Linked DNA regions of Homo sapiens: region 1 is linked to region 2. Evidence: promoter capture Hi-C in human tissues and cell types (Jung and others, 2019). All regions are on one chromosome and are shown on one strand. Each heading gives the region's core, a stretch centred on a gene start or on the middle of the fragment in contact. The rest is flanking DNA. Distances are from core to core; before and after follow the strand shown.

Region 1 (2,802 bases), core at 301-2,800, 98 kb before region 2:
GGGGGGGAACTGACTAGAGGGGGCACTGACTGGGGGGGAACTGACTAGAGGGGGCACTGACTGGGGGGGGAACTGACTGGAGGGGGCACTGACTGGGGGAAACTGACTGGAGGAGGCACTGACTGGGGGAAACTGACTGGAGGAGGCACTGACTGGGGGGGAACTGACTGGAGGGGGCACTGACTAGGGGGAATTGACTGGAGGGGGCACTGACTGGGGGGCACTGACTGGGGGGAAACTGACTGGGGGGGCACTGACTGGGGGGAACTGACTGGAGGGGGCACTGACTGGGGGAAACTGACTGGAGGAGGCACTGACTGGGGGGAATTGACTGGAGGGGGCACTGACTGGGGGGAATTGACTGGAGGGGGCACTGACTGGGGGGCACTGACTGGGGGGAAACTGACTGGGGGGGCACTGACTGGGGGGGAACTGACTGGAGGGGGCACTGACTGGGGGAACTGACTGAAGGGGGCACTGACTGGGGGGGGAACTGACTGGAGGGGGCACTGACTGGGGGGAATTGACTGGAGGGGGCACTGACTGGGGGGCACTGACTGGGGGGCACTGACTGGGGGGAAACTGACTGGGGGGGCACTGACTGGGGGGAACTGACTGGAGGGGGCACTGACTGGGGGAAACTGACTGGAGGAGGCACTGACTGGGGGAAACTGACTGGAGGAGGCACTGACTGGGGGAAACTGACTGGAGGAGGCACTGACTGGGGGGAAACTGACTAGAGGGGGCACTGACTGGGGGGGAACTGACTAGAGGGGGCACTGACTGGGGGGGAACTGACTAGAGGGGGCACTGACTGGGGGGGGAACTGACTGGAGGGGGCACTGACTGGGGGAAACTGACTGGAGGAGGCACTGACTGGGGGAAACTGACTGGAGGAGGCACTGACTGGGGGGGAACTGACTGGAGGGGGCACTGACTGGGGGGAAACTGACTGGAGGGGGCACTGACTGGGGGGGAACTGACTGGAGGGGGCACTGACTGGGGGGCACTGACTGGGGGGAAACTGACTGGGGGGAAACTGACTGGGGGGGAACTGACTGGGGGGGAACTGACTGGAGGGGGCACTGACTGGGGGAACTGACTAGAGGGTGCACTAACTGGGGGGGAACTGACTGGAGGGGGCACTGACTGACTTGGGGGGGGCACTGACTCCGGGGGCACCGACTGGGGGGAACTGACTGGAGGGGGAACTGACTGACTGGGGGATAACTATCTGGAGGGGGCACTGACTGACTCGGGGAGAAGTGACTTGGGGGGCACTGGCAGACTGGGGGCCGGGTCTGAGCGGCGGGCGGCCGCACTCACCTGCCCTGCGGGCCGGGCGTCGCGGCAGCTCTTCGGAGGCCCGTGTGGAGGCCCGAGCGGAGGCCAGGGCGCTGGTGGAGGCAAAGCCCGGGCGGCCTCGGGCGGGCCGCACACACATGGGCCCGGCCGAGGGCGCAGCGCCTACGGACACCGGCACGGCCGGCCGGCGGCTCGAGACCGACTCGGGGCCGCGGGCGGCACTCCGATCGCTCCAAAATGGCGGCGGCGGCGCACGGGCACGCGCTCCGGGGGCGGGGTCTCCGCTTGGGGCGCGCACGCTCGCGGCCGGGGGCGGGGCCGCGCGGGTGGGCGGGGCCGGGACCTGGGCCGGCTCTCCGGGCCCCCTGGAGTGGGGCACTCGGTGAAACCCGCGTGGGAGCACGAGGGCTTGGGTGTGCTGACTGCTGCCTTGGAGTGGGTGGGGTAAGAGTGCGTCTTTCCCCTTTTACGTTTCCCTTTGAGGTATTGGCTAAAGTTTTGTGCAAGCATAGTTAATTTTGTTGTAGCCACAAAACAATCCTCGCGTGGCCCGACGCAGCATTTGAGAGACACACACCTGGGGCAGGGGTTTCCCCCGTGGCCCAGGAAAGGGCCTGTTCTCCCGGGCCTCCCTCCTGCCACAGGCCCCTCCCAGAGGCCGCGGGGCGTGGACGCCCCGAGCAGCAGGAGCGGGCTCAGCCCCGGGCGCCAGGCCTGGCCCCTCCCCGTCCCGCGTCCTGCCTGGACCCGGAGTGCCTGAGCCGCCTCCAGACAGTTTTCTCCAGGTGCGCTACGGGTTCTTGCACGGCGTTTTGCAAATTAAGTATGTGCCTATTTAACAAGTGCTGGAATTGTTTAATTCCATCAAAATAATTTCAAAAATGATTACTATTATTTCAGATGTTAGAGCGAGCCGTGGGTAAATGTTGGGAAAACATGGAGCACTTAAGGGATCTCTAAACGTTTTTTCCAGTTGTCAGTGTATTGCCCAGGATTCACCGATGCTCTCTGCGAAAGCGTATCTGGGCGGCTCAAATATTCGGTATTTCTCTTTTGCCAGCTGGCGCTGTTAGGCTTTGTCGGTAGAGGGCGCCAGAGACGTTGCAGGAGAAAAGGGCTTGGCCCTGCGGCTGGCGGCCCCGGGCTTCCCCGACGCCTGTCCCCTGCCCTGGTCAGCAGCACCCTCCTCGCCGGTTTTATAGCAGATGCCTCTGGCGAGCCTTTCCCCAGCAAAAGCTTTTCCCCTAGCATCCTAAGGGGCAGATTTCTGGCAGGTTCCGTTGAGGGAACTTCCAGGAAGTGGGGGTGAAAAAGCCTCAGCCTCACAACCTAGAGAAGAGACACCCTGCGTTCAGCAGGCTATGCCCTTCTCCTGCCCTCACCATGGTCTCCTTTGCAGGAGCGGGAGGTGCTGCTGAGTTGAGCTACGGAATGGGGACTGGGGCCAGGGGCACCAGATGCAGGAGATGCTCCTGCTGCCGTGAGCACGTGCAACTC
Region 2 (2,985 bases), core at 377-2,876:
CCATGCATGTGGACGGGCATGTGATGGACGTGTGCCTGGGCCCCAGGGTGACGGGTGGGTGGGGCACTGTGTGGTACTGAATGGAGCCTTCCTCAGCTGGGGTGTGGGAGAAGGGCTGCTGGAGGCAATGCCAGGTGGGTCTCCAGCACAGAGGCTCAGCAGTCACAGCACCCCTGCCCATGGCCCCGTGAATGCTCTTCCACCTCTGCCTCTGCGGTTTGGGCTCAGGAGGGTGAGCAGGGCCTTACACTTATGCACCTGTGTCCTGGAAGGAGGAGTCTGTGGCTGAACATCAGGGGCAAGGAGGCGGCTGCCCTATCCATGTTCCATGTCTCCACGCCACTGCCAGTGGTGAGTGACCATGCCACGCGGCAAGGCAGGTGCTGGGGAGCCCATGGATGTGTACAGCTGCTGTTTGCTGGCATTGTCATGATAGCAGGCCTCTGGTCCTTCCTGTCTCCCTGCTCCTACTCCAGGGGCCCTGAGATTGGGAGGTTGGGAGGCCAGAGCCAGCAGGTGTCCGTAGATGAGGAGCTGGGCTCTGCTGTCCCCACAGATGACCGGTGGTTTCCTGAGCTGCATCTTGGGCTTGGTGCTGCCCCTGGCCTATGGCTTCCAGCCTGACCTGGTGCTGGTGGCGCTGGGGCCTGGCCATGGCCTGCAGGGCCCCCACGCTGCACTCCTGGCTGCAATGCTTCGGGGGCTGGCAGGGGGCCGAGTCCTGGCCCTCCTGGAGGAGGTAAGCTGGGCAGGGTGGAGGTGCTGCGGGGTGGGACGAGGGAAAGGACCAGTGACTGCTTCCGTCTTCGCCCCTGGTCCAGAACTCCACACCCCAGCTAGCAGGGATCCTGGCCCGGGTGCTGAATGGAGAGGCACCTCCTAGCCTAGGCCCTTCCTCTGTGGCCTCCCCAGAGGACGTCCAGGCCCTGATGTACCTGAGAGGGCAGCTGGAGCCTCAGTGGAAGATGTTGCAGGTGAGGCTGACTGCGGAGGCATGGCCCTGCCCTGGGGCCTGGCTCTGCCGCACAGATCGGTGGGGAGGGCAGGGCAGGGGAGTGCCCTGAACCAGCTCCAGCGCCGGAGGCCAACTGCGCGCCTCTTCTCGGCTCCTCCTGTAGTGCCATCCTCACCTGGTGGCTTGAAATCGGCCAAGGTGGGAGCATTTACACCGCAGAAATGACACCGCACGCCAGCGCCCCGCGGCCGCGATCCGGACCCCAAGCCCACGGCTCCCTCGACTCTGGGGCACGGAACCCCGCCCACTCCCAATCCCCGCGCCCCGCCCTCTCCCACCCGTGCTTCCCCCGCTCCACCCCTCACCTCACCTCGCCCCCGCCCCACCCATCGCGCCCCGGCCCGTCCCATCGAGGCCCATGCAACCCACGCTCGGTCCCGTTCCGGCCCCTGCGCCCCGCTGCGCTTCGCTCCCCGCCCTTGCGCCGTTAGTAAACATCGCTCAAACGAAACGCTGGCTCTGCCTCCTTTACTGAGCACGCTCGGCCTCGGTCTCTCACCCGCGGTGCCGGACTCAGGCCGGAAGTATGCCGCGGCCCAGGCCTCACCAACTTCACGCGCTGCCGGCGTTCCCGTGACGTATTTCCGGCGCGCCCGCCCTAGTGCTCTTCACACTGGCGCGGCTGTGACGCGACGGAGGCGGCGAGAGCGGCAGCCGTGGGCACTTTCCACGGGTGAGGCCTGGAGAACGGGTGGACGTGCAGGCCAGAACCCGGGACCCACCCGGCTGAGCCCCCAGACTCTCCGCTGCCCACGACCCTCGGAGTGGCACCCTCTCCTGGCCGTCTCCTCTCGTGGGTCCCGAAGAACGGGTGCAAAGCCGAGTTCGTCCGCTGTACTGCGCGGGCGCGCGTTTCGTTCTTCGGTTTTGCCACGGTTCTGTGACTCCCTAAAGGTTGAGGGCTACTGAATTAGAAGAAACGCCGAGCTGGCTTCTGGTGGGCTGCCGGGCGCCGGGCAGCGTGCTTGGACTGGGGAGGGCAGGGCGTGTTTACTCTGAGTAGAGCAACCGCAAGACCTCCTTTAAAAAATACCAGTTCTGAGCTTCGGCATTGGAGAGGCCGCCTGTCATTCAGCCTCTTCGGACCCTCTCTCACTCCCTGTCTTCCGGAGCGTGAGTGAAGCCCGGGTGAGGTGTTTTCCCACACGCCGGGGGCCCGGAGCTGAGAAGGGGCATGGCCAGCATCACGCAGCTGTTCGACGACCTGTGTGAGGCCCTCCTGCCGGCTGCCAAGACTCACCTGGGCCAGCGCAGTGTGAACCGGAAGAGGGCAAAGCGGAGCCTCAAGAAGGTGGCCTACAATGCTCTTTTCACAAATCTTTTTCAAGATGAGACTCAACAGCTGCAGCCTGACATGTCAAAACTACCAGCGAGAAACAAGATCCTCATGTTGTCCTTTGACTTGAGAGTGGGTGGCCTGGGCCCCAAGGCCGACCGTTTGGAGGAGCTTGTGGAGGAGCTGGAAGCAGCCCCTTGCTGTCCGCTTTTGGAGGTGGGGTCTGTTTTGGACCTCCTGGTTCAGCTGGCAGGGAGTGGTCCCCCTCAAGTTCTGCCGAGAAAACGAGACTACTTCCTTAACAACAAGCATGTGGGGAGAAACGTTCCGTACAGCGGCTATGATTGCGACGACCTGAGTGTGTTTGAGATGGACGTTCAGTCTCTGATCTCCAGAGAAGAGTGTTTGTGTCACAGCATGATCCAGGAAACACTTCAGGTTATGGAGGCTGCTCCAGGCACTGGCCTGCCCACCGTCGGGCTCTTCTCATTTGGTGACCCTTGTGGTGACAGGTTCGAGAGAGACACCCGGGTCTCGCTCTTCGGGGCCCTTGTGCACAGCCGCACTTATGACATGGACGTCCGACTGGGCCTGCCCCCCGTGCCAGACAATGCGGACCTCTCTGGGCTGGCTATTAAGGTAGAATGTTTAGTTTTTCCTCTTTCATCTCTCTCGGGGTTTGGAAAATGCTTCC

Evidence for each region. The method cuts DNA at HindIII sites, captures the fragments that hold promoters and counts their contacts. A contact is called where the count stands out against the background at its distance.
Region 1: a contact is called between the fragment with the promoter of PPP6R2 here and the fragment with the promoter of TUBGCP6 in region 2, in 2 of the 25 tissues and cell types used here (lymphoblastoid cells and small bowel).

What each region holds. Positions count from the first base shown.
Region 1 is chr22:50,342,075-50,344,876 of GRCh38, reverse strand. It overlaps PPP6R2 (protein phosphatase 6 regulatory subunit 2), which reads right to left and starts at 1,550. Exons shown (of 24, transcript NM_001242898.2): 1 at 1,327-1,550. RefSeq lists silencers at 1,290-1,369, 1,380-1,659, 1,930-2,099 and an enhancer at 2,196-2,802. The HindIII fragment of the contact is 17,181 bases long and covers 1-2,802 here.
Region 2 is chr22:50,243,664-50,246,648 of GRCh38, reverse strand. TUBGCP6 (tubulin gamma complex component 6) reads left to right here and starts at 1,626. Exons shown (of 25, transcript NM_020461.4): 1 at 1,626-2,930. The coding sequence starts at 2,190. It overlaps HDAC10 (histone deacetylase 10), which reads left to right. Exons shown (of 20, transcript NM_032019.6): 17 at 273-351; 18 at 557-739; 19 at 822-974; 20 at 1,119-1,466. The coding sequence ends at 1,142. RefSeq lists a silencer at 1,254-1,323 and enhancers at 1,794-1,843, 2,254-2,533, 2,107-2,985. The HindIII fragment of the contact is 41,268 bases long and covers 1-2,985 here.